2 separate regions of the Homo sapiens genome follow, and region 1 is linked to region 2. Evidence: promoter capture Hi-C in 16 types of primary human blood cells and fetal thymus (Javierre and others, 2016). All regions are on one chromosome and are shown on one strand. The core of a region is centred on a gene start or on the middle of the fragment in contact, and the rest is flanking DNA. Distances in the headings are between cores, read along the strand shown.

The links. The method cuts DNA at HindIII sites, captures the fragments that hold promoters and counts their contacts. A CHiCAGO score of 5 or more calls a contact.
Region 1: a fragment that was not itself captured here is called in contact with the fragment with the promoter of BIN3 in region 2 in 4 of 17 cell types (endothelial precursors, M1 macrophages, M0 macrophages and 1 more); the score reaches 9.8 in endothelial precursors.

What each region holds. Positions count from the first base shown.
Region 1 is chr8:22,925,988-22,932,691 of GRCh38, reverse strand. It overlaps PEBP4 (phosphatidylethanolamine binding protein 4), which reads left to right and starts at 4,778. Exons shown (of 7, transcript NM_144962.3): 1 at 4,778-4,869; 2 at 4,972-5,108. The coding sequence starts at 4,978. The HindIII fragment of the contact is 298 bases long and covers 1,884-2,181 here.
Region 2 is chr8:22,664,920-22,671,484 of GRCh38, reverse strand. It overlaps BIN3 (bridging integrator 3), which reads left to right and starts at 2,364. Exons shown (of 9, transcript NM_018688.6): 1 at 2,364-2,441. The coding sequence starts at 2,434. RefSeq lists enhancers at 2,195-2,254, 2,012-2,641 and a silencer at 2,505-2,664. The HindIII fragment of the contact is 6,679 bases long and covers 1-3,569 here.

The DNA of each region.
Region 1 (6,704 bases), core at 783-3,282, 260 kb before region 2:
AAATTTTTTGAGACAGGGTCTCCTTCTCTCACCCAGGGTGCAGTTAAGGAGGCTTTCCTTGATTAGGCATTTACTTGGCTGCTCTAACCTTTGGCTGTTTTCCAGAGCTTCTATAAAGTTAGTTCATCCAATTCTCTGTCTCTCTGGGGGTGTGTGTGTGTGTGTATATGTGTGTTTAGCTTTCCATGAGGGAACAAGAGCTTGGAGCTTCCTAATCATCCATTTTGCTGACATCCCCAGGATGACTTTTTTTAAACAGCTTTATTGCTATATGCTCCACTTATCTCACAATTCATAAATTTTGAAGTGTATAATTCAGTGGTTTTTAGTATATGTATAGATATGTGCAACCATCACATAGGCAATTTCAGAACATTTTCATCACCTTTAAAAGAAACCTCATACCCTTTAGCTATCATCCCCATACCTCTCATTCACGTCTTATCCCACCTCCACCTCCAGCCTTAGCAACCACTAGTCTACTTTCTGTCCCTGTGTATTTGCCTATTCTGGACATTTCATATAAATGGAATCATACAATATGTCCTCTTTTGCGACTGGCTGCTTTCACTTAGCACAGTGTTTTCCCCCATGGCTCCTGGGCCCCACCCTGGGCTCTGTAGAAGGCACAGGATACTGAGAGTAGAGTGGGAGCAGGATTGCATGACGGAGTAGCCAGATTACTGGACTGTTCCAAATTTGAAGTTGCATCCAACAGCTGCAATGCGAAGATAAGGGCGAAGAAATTGAAGATGTTAGCAAGTGAATAGTACAAAGGTTTGTAAGACCCAGGTACCAGAGGGAAGGTAGTCAGAATAGGTAAGGAAAAAGGAGAGTGGTCGAGGGACCAGAGTTTAGAATCAAATGAAAGACTAAGTGCAGAGAAGTAACAAGAGGGTAGAGGAAGGAGAAGAGATGGTGATCAGAAGAGCTGCTTGAAATTAGCTGGGCATAGTGGTGCGTGCCTGTAATCCCAGCTACTTGGAAGGCTGAGGCAGGAGAATCACTTGAACCTAGGAGGCGGAGGCAGCAGTGAGCTGAGATCATGCCACTGCATTCCAGCCCCGGTGACAGCGAGACTCCACCTAAAAACAAAAACAAAAACAAACAAAAAAAACTGCTTGAATTTAATATTTTAGGGATGGAGCAATTTGTAGTGATGAAAATGTCCAAGAAAGTGGTCATGGGAAGGGAGGCTGGAAAAGAGGGAGGGGAAAATGTTGGTAGAGGCATCCAAAATAGGCAAATTCATAGAGACGGAAAATAGATTAGGGTTGTCAGGGGCTGGGGGTAGGGAGGAATGGGGTGTTACTGCTAATAAGTACAGGACTTCTTTTAGGTTGATGAAAATGCTCTGTACTTTGGTAGTGATGGTTGCACAAGCTTGTGAACATACGAAAACTCACTGGATTATATATATTAAAAGGGTGAATTTTATGTGTGAATTATATCTCAATTAATTTTTAATTAGGAATCAATGAAAAGAATTCAGGGGAATTTGTTCACTACAGTTCAGAGATTCCAGAGGGCCTATGTGGAAAGGTTTAGGAGGGAGAGAAATAACAAGAGTCTGTGTCTGGGTAGAGAAATGAAGTGAGGCCTAGGCAGTGATTGGAGGGTGTCAGGCACAGGAGGCCTGGAGGGATAAGAAGGGAGTGAAGAGTTTCAGCAGCAGTGGTCCAACAGATCCCAGTAGCTGGAGGGACCAATGTGTCTCAGGAAGCCACAGGTTTGGCTTGAATGGTGGTGTCTGGAGGTGGTCCCAGCCCAGGTAACTGAAGGAAGAGAGGGGGACTTCAAGGGTGGGCACCAAGAAATCTAGCAATGGGACTTTCCAGGAGCCGGGGTGGTGATGGGGAGGGAGAATTGTCACTCCGCAAGCTTGAACACGGCTTTCAGATCTTAGGTTTCAAGTATGAATCAAAGTCCTGAAAATCCCCAAGAGAAAGATCAGGTTTGAAAAATCCCGAGAACCACTGCATTCTGCCAGATCTCTCTGCACAAAAACAAGCCAGAGAAGGTTAGATAAATAAGCAAAAGGCATCCAGGGCTAAGGGCCAACCTGAGTGATTAGTTTCCTACTGATGTTTGTACAGAGTTAAGACCTGTTAAGTGAAAATGAGGATGATCAGAAACGGAAGTGGCGTGTGTCATGCACTTAAACAAGAATTTTATTAAGCTTCTATATACTCCATGTAAGATGCTCAGAATGCTGGACAGTCTCCGTGCTGCCTCCGAGAAGCTTATAGGCTGGGGGGATGAGGAGATACTATCACTAAGCAAATAACTATAAAATAATTTATTACAACTATATGAGAATAATGAAGAAAGCAGTAAAGTGCTCTAATTGTTTATAACAGGAATCTGATGGACCCTAGGGGAAAGAGCAAGTTTCTCTTAGGAAACGACATTTCAGCTACCCCCCTAATGAAGGTGGGAAGCAGGGTCAGTGCCTATCACAGCCCTGGCATAGAAAGGAGCTTGAGGAACCCGCCAGAGGTAACATGTGAGAGGAAGAGGAAGTCAGCTAGAGAGACAGGAAAAGCCTGATCTCGCAGGGTATTGTGGTCCACGTGAAGGACTCTGGGTCCTTCTCCCAAGAGCAAAGGGAATGTAGAGGGAGTGAGTGAGAGGCAATGGAGCAGCTACAGAGTGCAGTGGAGCCAGGTGGTTAAGAGCGTGGACTCTGGGCTGGGCGCGGTGGCTCACGCCTGTAATCCCAGCACTTTGGGAGCACACAGGTGGATTACTTGAGCCCAGGAGTTCGAGACCAGCCTGGGCAACAATGCAAGACCCCGTCTCTACAAAAAATACAAAAATTAGCCAGAGCCGTGGTGTGCCTGTACTCCCAGCTACTTGAGAGGCTGTGGCAGGAGAATCCCTTGAAGCCCAGAAGGCGGAGGTTGCAGGAGCCAGCATCACCCCATTGCACTCCAGCCTGGGCGATGAGAGTGAGACCCTGTCTCAAAACAAAGCATGGACTCAATGGACTCAACCCAGTTTCCACAGGTTCAACCAGAGCCTGGGGTTCAAATTCCAGGTCTGCCACTTCTTGGTGACCAAGATCAGGTTTTAACTAATGTCACTGTGCTGTCTCCTCCTCCATAAGATGGGGTGATAATAGTGCCTATTTCCAAGGATTGGCATGAGGATTCGGAGATAAAAGTGCCTGGCACGTGGAGTAAGGAAGAACCGCCACTGGAAGTGGGCTCAACAGCAGCAACCTGCACTGTGGGCTCTCCCTTCTTCCAGGCCGCCATCACTGTGCTAAAGGAGTTGACACCCAGAAAAGTTGAGACTTCTCTAGTGGATGCCATTTGGAAGATGAGTTTCTTGGTCTTGGGCAGCCCTTCTGGCAGCATCTCCTTGGCTGTGGCTGTCCTGTGAGCTGCATGCTCAACCTATACCCCAGGGCCCAACATGGGGCAGGCACGTGGGAGGTGCTTAATGCCTATGAGTGAAGTGGGTTGCAAAGGAATGAATGAATGGATGGATCCGTGAGAGAATACTTAGACTATTCATAAATTATTGAGCATTTACTATGTGCCAGGCACCTTACTGAGGGCTTAACCTGGTTGATTTCATTCTCATAATGATCTTGTGAGGAGGCTACTATTAGACTCTGTCCACTAGGGGAGATCTTGGGAATATGTTTTCTGGTTGGGGCAAGGGGGAGTCCTGGTTGTACTTCAGAGAACCTAATGATTGAGAAATGTGTTTAATATGTAGCCCCTAAGGGGGGCTTTTTGCTACAGGTTGGGATCCTGGAGGCAGGAATTGAGCCAGAAAGCAGACTATGCTGAAAGTAGTTTCTCTAAAGGTCTAGCTGCGTGTACTTTACAGCGATGATCTCATATTCCTTAGCAAGGCACCACGGTGACAGGAATTATTTTACTTGTTTGTGAAAAGGAAAAGTGGTGCATTCTAGGGAGACACAGTGGCCTCCCAGCATCCAGAGAGAGCTCAGAGCAGAAGCCAGGAGTCCTGAGTTGCTGGCACGTCTCTCCCACCCCCGCCTCTGAGAAGCAGAGAGCAGAGCTATTGGAAAGCCTGTTGCAAGCCGCCTTTATTCTTCTCCCTGCCCACTCAGGCTCAAACCAGAGTCCCACATGCACCTGGTGGCAGGACTGTTCCCCAAGGGAATGCAGGCGACAGTCCCCGGCTCCCCTTCCTCCCAGTGCACTGCTGGGGCAGGCCACCCCTTTCTGAGCCCCAAGCAGCTCCCCAGACCTCCTTCTCCAGATACGATTATTTTGGGAGAGTGCTGAGTGCAGCACAGCTGCAAGGTGCACCCAGACGCACCCTTCTGTCCTCAGCTGGCCCTTCGGAGCTGGCCCTTCGGAGCTGGCCTCGGTCTGGGGTGCACCTACCCCCACCCCCTGCAGCAGTCCCTCCTACACAAGGTCACTGTGTCCAACCACCTCCACCTTGGGGAAGCTCACAGGCTGTGGAGACAGGTGGTGGAAGAATGGGGGCCAGGAGAGTCAGAGCCGGTCTGAGGGGCACAGCCCAACTCCTAGCCCTGAGCCTGGGGTCACCAGCTTCCCAGGGCTTGCCTTACAGCCAAGGAGCAGGCTGGCCTTTGGCCAGCTGACCATCCCTGGGCCAACAGCAGGGACTGGACAAGGAGCTGCACCGAGGAGCTTATATAAGCACTTCTACTTTGCAGCCTGCTCTCTGCCCTGGCAGCCAGGACAAGAGTGACAACAAAGCTGTGTCCTGCCAGGGGAGGGGCCTCTGCCAGGAACGTACATTGAGTCCAACTTGGAAGAGGCCCAGTCCTCCCAAAGTACTTGTGTCCGGGTGGTGGACTGGATTAGCTGCGGAGCCCTGGAAGCTGCCTGTCCTTCTCCCTGTGCTTAACCAGAGGTCTCTATCCTGCCAAGTGGGCCCCTGGGGTCGGGGGCACAGGTAGTGGGCAGGAAGGCCCCTGCAGGGGATCCAGCCGCTCTAAAGTTCTTTCTGTTCCAGGTGCCCATGGGTTGGACAATGAGGCTGGTCACAGCAGCACTGTTACTGGGTCTCATGATGGTGGTCACTGGAGACGAGGATGAGAACAGCCCGTGTGCCCATGAGGCCCTCTTGGACGAGGACACCCTCTTTTGCCAGTAAGTCAGGGCAGGCTTGGAGGCGGGAGGCACAGAGGCTACCAGGCAGGTAGATGGCAGGGAGGGGTATATCCAGAACCAAGAAGCACCATCTCCTGAGCCTGATTTTATGGGAAGGCAGAACACGTGTCAGATCTGGAGACCACCTTGATGGAGGATGGCACTGAGAAAGGGATTTAGAAACAGACTCCTTCCTGCCTTCCAGAATGCACCTCTCCCAGGACCAGGAGGGCTGTGTATGTGGTCGGCTCTGCTTGGGCCCTCCAAACCTGGGGGGTCTTTGTGGGGGCAGGAGGCTGAGACCCTCAGAGAGAGACCCAGAGAGAGACCATCCCTCCCTGCAGCCTGAATGCCCCCTCTCCCCAGAACCCCAACAAAGAGGCATTTGAATGAAAGAAGGTGTATGATTAGACCCTTCCTGTGTGAGAGGTTTTTGTCAGTGATAGGACCCAGGAGCGTTTGTGCAGGGCCCTTTAGGGATCATGGCACTGGATGGAGTTGGGTGACGAGGCTGGCTTCTTCCCTTCCAAGGGCACAAGCTGCTTCTACTTTGGGTAAGCTGGAAAGCCTGGCGTTCGGCTCTCTCCTCACCAACTCTGCCGGTTAGAAAAGCAAGCCTTCATTTGTGTGGACTTGTGGGTCATCCTGAGGACTCCCCAGGCCAAACTGATGCCAAACCTCCCTGCCAGTTTGGTGGCTGAGGAGGGGGACACCCCACTGAGCCCACGTGTGAGAAATGAGAGAGGAGGAAAAAGAACTTTGACTACTTACTCTCTTCTGTACCTTTGAATTTTCACAAACATTACTGTTCATGAAAATGTTTGTTTTTCTTTTTAATTTTATTTAAAACATTTTTGACAAACATTACTTTTAGAACCATAAATACATGTCTTCTCTTAAAATTATGTAGTTGAATCCTTCTTAAAAAGTAACATTTTTGTTGGGTGAAGTGGCTCACATGTGTAATCCCAGCACTTTGGGAGGCCAAGGTGGAGGATCACTTGAGCCCAGGGGTTTGAGACCAGCCTGGGCAACATAGAGAGACTCTTTTCTCTACAAAACAGTTTAAAAACTAGCCAAGCATGCTGATGCACACCTGTCGTCCCAGCTACTCAAGAGGTTGAGGTGGGAGGATCGCTTAAACCCAGGAGGTCAAGGCTGGTCTGAGCCATGATTGCGCCACTGCATTCCAGCCTGGGCAACAGAGCCAGACCCTGCCTAAACAACAACAACAACAACAACAAAAAGTAACAAACTTTGTTCGTGTCAGTATATTTTGAAAAATCTTGTTAAATAGTTCTGGGTGTAGGCTGGGCACGGTGGCTCACACCTGTAATCCCAAGACTTTGGGAGACTGAGGCAGGCAGATAACAAGGTCAGGAGTTTGAGACCAGCCTGACCAACACGGTGAAACCCTGTCTCTACTAAAAATAAAAAAAAATTAGCCGGGCATGGTGGCGCACACCTGTAATCCCAGCTACTCAGGAGGCTGAGGCAGGAGAATCCCTTGAATCTGGGAGGTGGAGGTTGCAGTGAGCCGAGATTGCGCCACTGCACTCTAGCCTGGGCGACAGACCAAGACTCTGTCTCAAAAAA
Region 2 (6,565 bases), core at 1,115-3,614:
TGGCACAGCAGGCTCATGGAGGAACACAGGATAGCAGGATGCCTGACTGTCCCTCCTCAGCCCAGTGCCCCTCTAGCTGAGCGAATGAGCCACAGGTAAGGAGACCAAGCAGGCACATTCCAGACAGACTCCTGGGAGGACACCATTCTTTTTAGTAACCTCAAAGATCCTGCTGGCTGCATTAAAGATTTCGAGGTGACCTGTCAACAGCACAGCCCCAGAAAAATTCATATTTAGCTTTATCCAAGATATCACCAGTTCCTCAGACCTGCCCACTTCTCTGGGCTTGCCCCTCTGTTCACCTGCCTTTCCCATTCTCCTATTTCCCTAGGGCCTCTAGAGTCAACAAGACAGCTGACTTGGAACCTTGCAATGTTGGATACTTTGGGATGTGATCTACCCACTCCATCTTATAGATGAGGGGACTAAGGCCACAAAGGGGATGTGACTTATCTGAGGTCAGTTATAGTGTCAAAGGTTGAACTGGAAATAGAGCCGCAGACTCCTCCAGACTTGTAGTCCAGAACTTATCCATTCTAGTCCTCTAGGATGTGTCTGCTGCCCTCCAGCCCTGAAACAGACTTCTACTAGGATATAGCAGTTACCTAGGCTAAAACGTTTGGAAATATTTATCCCTGTGGGGCATAACTGAGGGAGGCAGAACATGGGGAAGGGAGGAAGCAGGTGGGAAAACTATTCACAGGTGCTAACTGCCAGGAGGCTCCTAAACCCACAACAGCCCTTCCATCCGTCACACTCTCTGCAAAGCAGCAAGGACTCTCTCTTTCCCTTTACCCACACTCTCTGCCCAGGCTACCCTTTGGTGACTTCTGCTCTTCCTCTTTACTCTTCAAGGCTGCTCTTGTGCTCATTTTGGCCTGTTTCCTGAGGAACAACATGGTAATGAAGCTGATCTGCATGATGTGCTTGGGGATCCAACCTCCATTGGAAACGTCAATTGAGTCAAACTATGGACTCTCAAGAATGGAAACAGAAAACACAAATGAGAGACTGCATCCTGTGGCCCACCCTCCTACCTCTCCTGCTCAAGCCCTCTACTCCACCCTAGGAGGTCAAAACAAATCATACACTACTTCTGCTCTAGGTCATTGGTCATATTTTTCCCGCTAGGTCATTGATTAGCAACCCCCTAAGCAGTCCCTGAAACAATCCCGGTCCATCTGAGGAAGGAGAATTCCTAGAGAGAAGGTCACTGGGGGCCCAGCAGCACCTGCACGGGCCTCACTGCCTTCTTGTCTCTCTTCCAAGGCAGGGAGGTACTTAGCGGTGAGGAAACCAAGTCGGCCCAGAATCCCAGGCAACTTGTGAGCCACTAAGGCCCTGAATTCTGACTTTGGGAGACCCGAGGCAAGTCAGCTGCTTGCTTGGTCCTGTCTGTGTCTTAGCCATGGTAAGTTCCCTCTGCCTGGAGCCTCGTCACCCCTCATCTCAGATTCACCTGGCTAGCCCCGATTCTGCCTTCAGGGCTTGGCTTACACACTGGCTCCTCCTGGAAGCCTTCCCCAAAACCCCATGTGCTACTTCAGGGTCCCCTTCTAGGCTGCCACCACACCTCATTCTATCCTATCCTATAGCATGATTATAATTGCCTGCTTGTCTCTCCCTCCAGGAAAGTAGCTCTGGGAAGGAACAAGAGCAGGGCAGATACTTCTCTGAGATAGCTGTATCCTAAGGTTGGCTCGGTACCTGACACTAATATTAGTGCAACTAGTATTAGTTAAATGAAGGAATAGAACGAATGGGGCAATTTACATCATTTGAGTCCTGTAGAGGAGACCAAAGGGAAGGGCTGAAAGGCAGGGAACAACTCATACTCTGCGTCTTATTGTGTTGAATAACTCTAGGAAACATTCCAACCTGAAAAGCACCTATCTATTGATATTCAGAGCCCTGTGCCATCTTGGAAGGGAAACGTCCGTTTGTTTGTAACAGGTAATGCATGTGTGGTGTACAAACTGTAAAAGATAGGAAAGAGCATTCAGAGAATGTAAGTTTTCCACTTTCTCCATCCCAAATGGCTTCTTCTCCCACAGACAATTGCTGCCACTGTCTCTGGATTAGAAACCACTTGACAGAGGGGACAGCCCGGCTAAGGGCCCTGCATGGTCAGGTGAAGAGATCTTTAGGAGTCAGTGTTGAAGGCAGAAAACGCCCCCAGAGGTTCCCCTCATCCCCCGTTGCAGCCTGTGTGTCTAAGCGCTTGGCCAGAGCCAGAGAGTCGCCGGCAAGGGAAACTCCGCGGCGAGCACGCAGCAGCAGAAGGGTTAACGCGCCGGGCTCCGCCTCCCAACCGCCTCTTCCGGGCAGAGAGGCGGGCTTACGTCACTTCCTGGAGACTGGTTGAATCCGGAAGTGACCCTAGAGAAACGAGTTGTGGCTGAGGACCCCGGCGGCAGACGCAGGTTCGGGACCATGAGCTGGTGAGTGAGGCCCAGGCGGCGGGAGCTGCTGGACCCGCGGACCCGCGAGGCCCCTGGCCCTGTGTCAGTGCCGCGTCCCGGCTCCCTCCGGTCCCGCGCGACCCCTCCGCCCCAGAGCAAGGCCCGACAGCCCCTGCCCTAGGGTCGTTCCCTCGGTGCTTTCCGGAGTCGCAGTCTCTCAGCAGGACTCCCGGGGAGAGTGGCGGATGATCCTCTTAGCCTGGGACTCCGCGTCTGACCCGTTTTGCCGGACTCGCGTCCTCCTAGCTCCTTGAAGTGAGGGACTTCCTTGTTCCCTCCTTTTTTAAACACCCATTGAGGTGGAGTCAGTGTCGTCTTTCTCTCCTGTGGGCATCTCTGCCCCGCGCCAGTCCCTCCAGAGCTGTGGCCCTCGCTGTGGCAGCCTGGACCCAGTTCACTAATCAAAACCCACTCCCTTCTGGGTAACTATCCTCTTTGCACGACTTAGCAGGCTTCAAAAGACAAGGAAAACTTGCTTCTCTTTTTAAAGGGGCCAGAATTACACTCCGCACACACCCTTCCACTGTGGGATTGGACTGGTTTTAATCATTCCAGAGCTATTACTCACTGCCTGCCCTCTAAATAGGCATGGTTAAGTTTAAACTTATGGGAACTATCATGCCATGAGAAAAGAAGCCAGGGAGTCTTAGAGTAATAGAGTCACAATTCCAGTTGCTGCAGTATGATGTGATACTTGGGTCATAGTAGACACTTCATAATGGTGTATTTATTTTGTAAGACTCAGTTTGCCCAAAAGGCAATCCCCATTTGTTGCTCTCGATTATTTATGTTCACAGGAGAGAATTGTGACTTGCCTGCCTTCCTGGGGCTTTCTTAGAGGTTAGAGAATACTCATATGCAGCACCTTACCTTACCGTCAGGCCCAAGGACCTATATAGCCACAACCCTGGACCTCAGGGGATTCAACTATAGTGTGTGAATAAATTGAGCCCCAGAGATGTACAAGATTAATCAGCCCATGGACATAGGGAACATATTTGCCACTCTGTCCTCAGAGGCTAGTGTGTTTGTTTATGCAAAGCGCATGATAACCAGTTATGAATGAATTAAGATAACAGAATGTCCTTCAGGAAGGCTTTTGAAGCTTAATTTTGGCCATCAGTGGAGAACGCAAGCAGCTGATATCAGTCAGTGTCAGGGATACTTCTCTAAAGTAAAATGCGAACCATCTGTCCCCTCCCCCACCTGTTTCTTAGACCAAGATTGATGGACAAATGTCAGACAATCACCGCAAGCACGGGAGGAAAGCCTGAAGCAATGTCCTAATAAGCCCCGGCAGGAGCTTCTGCTTTTCCCTCCACCATTTGCTCCAGGAGGCCAATAAGGGGCTGGAGCCTTAAAAAGCTACCTTCCCTGTCTTGTTATAACCTAGTTAGTGGTGGGCAAAGCGGCAATTCTTCAGTTCCCTTTCCCAGAGGAATTACGTCCTTTCAGTGTCATTCTGGGCCCCCCAGTCTTGCAATATAGATATCCTTTTGGCTGCTGCGTCTTGAATCTTTGGAGTGTTCTTACCTAATTTTTCAAAGTGAAAATGAGGCAGTACAGATGCTTTATATTGCCTAGATTGGCCTTTACTGAACCAATCTTTCCTTCACAAGTTGGGAGAAGAGCACAGCAGAAACTAATAAAGGTAAATGATTCTCTGGGTGATCCGAAGCAGGTTGTTTCCACCTGTCTCACAGAAAGTTTCCCTTCTGAAAAAATAGTAGCCCATTCCTTAAAGGTTATCCTGTCAGGTTGGAGAGAATTGAGATTGACAACTGTCTAACAAGAGCTGAGATTTTCATCTAGTAGCTTTAATTTACCAGTACATGCACATCTTGGTATCTCCTTGGACTGAGAGTCACAGCCAGAAGGGTGGCTTTGTCCCTCAAAGCTGAGATTCCTTTCTCTTCCCCCTTAAAGGGCTTCTACGTCATCTCTTGCGTGGACCCTGACCCTGTCTCTCAAAGACGGGAACAGCACCGGCGCCTGGGCACACAATCACACTCAGTTCCTAGCTCAATGGCTGGCAAGGAGACCGGGGCTGGGTCCTTCTGATTCACTCCCTGAGTGGTTTTCCTGCCCCCAGAATGAATCCATCCATTCATGTGAGACTGGAATTCTCATTAGGGGAAGAGACCAGAGTGACGTAGAGCCATCATGGGAGGCTGATGCCCAAGGTCAAGTTCACCAAGTACATGGGCTGTGCCAAGCCATCATTAAATAAGGCACATGGCCCATGGTCCCCAGAGGGTAACCATTGTTCTGGGCTAGGCTGAGCTTTCAAAATGTCACAGTGAGAAATGTCCAATATTGATGCCCTTTGCACACTGTGGACTTTGCATGAAGAGTGAGAGGCCTTTGTTCTCTGCTTCCTCTGTGCAGGCAACCCGCCCACCCCCTGTTTGTTTAGTGGGTACCTGCTGCCTTCCTGCACCATCTACCCATCCACTCCCCATACACCCATCTGCCTTTCAGAAAAGTGACCCGGTGGTCTGTCCTACTAGGAAGAAGGCATTTGATATTCACATCTCAGATCACAGATTCACTTCTTGGCCTCAAGCCAAATGCTTCTCTCTCTCTCGCTCTCTTTTTCTCTCCCATTGTCCACCCCACCTCCCCCCGCCATTTGCCCCCCTCCCAACTTTCTCTCCTCTCCTCCCCACTCACCCCCTCCCTCCCTATTTCTGTCTCCCTCTTGTCTCCCTTTTCCCCTTCCTGTCTCTCTTCCCCATCTTCCAGTGTATACTCAGGTGGCTTTATTATGGTATGGAGAGAGGATTAAGTAGAATTAAGAATAGTGACCTCAATCTAAGCTGGCTCCAGGAATTGTAGCCTCCTGTTGAACCATACACCTTGATGATTTTAGGCTTAAACGAGGAGGAAAAGGGAGTACTGGAAGAAATCTCCCTATACCTAGGGGTCCAGTAGTTTGACAAAAAGGAAGGAAATTAGAGGCAGAGCAGGTAAGTGTGAGTAGGAGTTAGAGTGCTGCGTTCAGGTTCTGGCTCAGCCACTCACAGTGCGGCCTGGTCAAGCATTGAGCTGTTCTCTGTCTTAGTTTCTCCATCTGTAGCATGGAGTGGCCATTCCTGCTGACAATTTGCCACCTGAGCCTGCTGTGAAATGAGTGGAGTGATATTTTTCTGACTCTTCCGGGGTCTTCTACCTCTGTCTGCCCTTCACACTTTGGTGTTCCTCATGTTTGATCCTTTTTGTTTCTTTCCTGTTTTCACCCTGTAGTCCCTTGCCATCATCTTCAGGATAGAGGCCCAACTCTGGGCCAGGGCTTCTGAGGCCCTCTGGGCCTGGCTGTCCATCTTCACTCCGTGTGTTCCATCCTCCAAGCTTCTCCTGCTCTCTCGTGCCCATGTGCCTCTGGATAACTGTCCCTTCTGCCTGAAATGTTTCCCCTTCACTCACACCCTGTCCACTAGGCCAGCATCTACTCATCCTTCAAGAGTCAGGCCACGCTTCACCTTCTCTGAGGGTCTTCCCTGAGTGGCCCCTCACACCCTGCCATGCTGCACTGGGTGCCGCTCTTCTGACCTTCATCAGCATCTGTACTCCGCTGGCTGGTTTACTTGTCTGTGAGTTCTTGAGTATGGGGACTGTCTTGTGGTCATTGCTATTCCCTAGCACTGTTCCTGGCAGTCAGGAAGTGTTTATTAAATATATGAATGGGGCCTTTTTTCCCTTTTCCTGACTTGCCTCAGCTCAGGAAAAATGTTAAGATAAAAACTTGCAGAACCTACAAACCACTTCCTAAAATGAAGAGCCTCTGAAAGTACTATTGTTAAATTGACCGACACAAGTGGCTTCCAGGTCAGGCTGCCTGTGATTTCTCCTCCCCACTCCTTCTGATCCTCCACTCCAAAGTGCTTTGCTGGGTTTCTTCTGTACTTCCATAGTGCTTCTCCTGTAGCACTTCTGCATCCTTCTGAGTATCACAGACGTACACCTCCCTTCCACACCAACCCCATGAGAACAGGAGCGACATAGAGCTTCTTCATCTTTTTGTACGCATAGTGGGTATCATGCACATAGTGGGTATCTAACAGGTAATTGTTAAATGAATGGAATATAAAGAAGGTAAACTT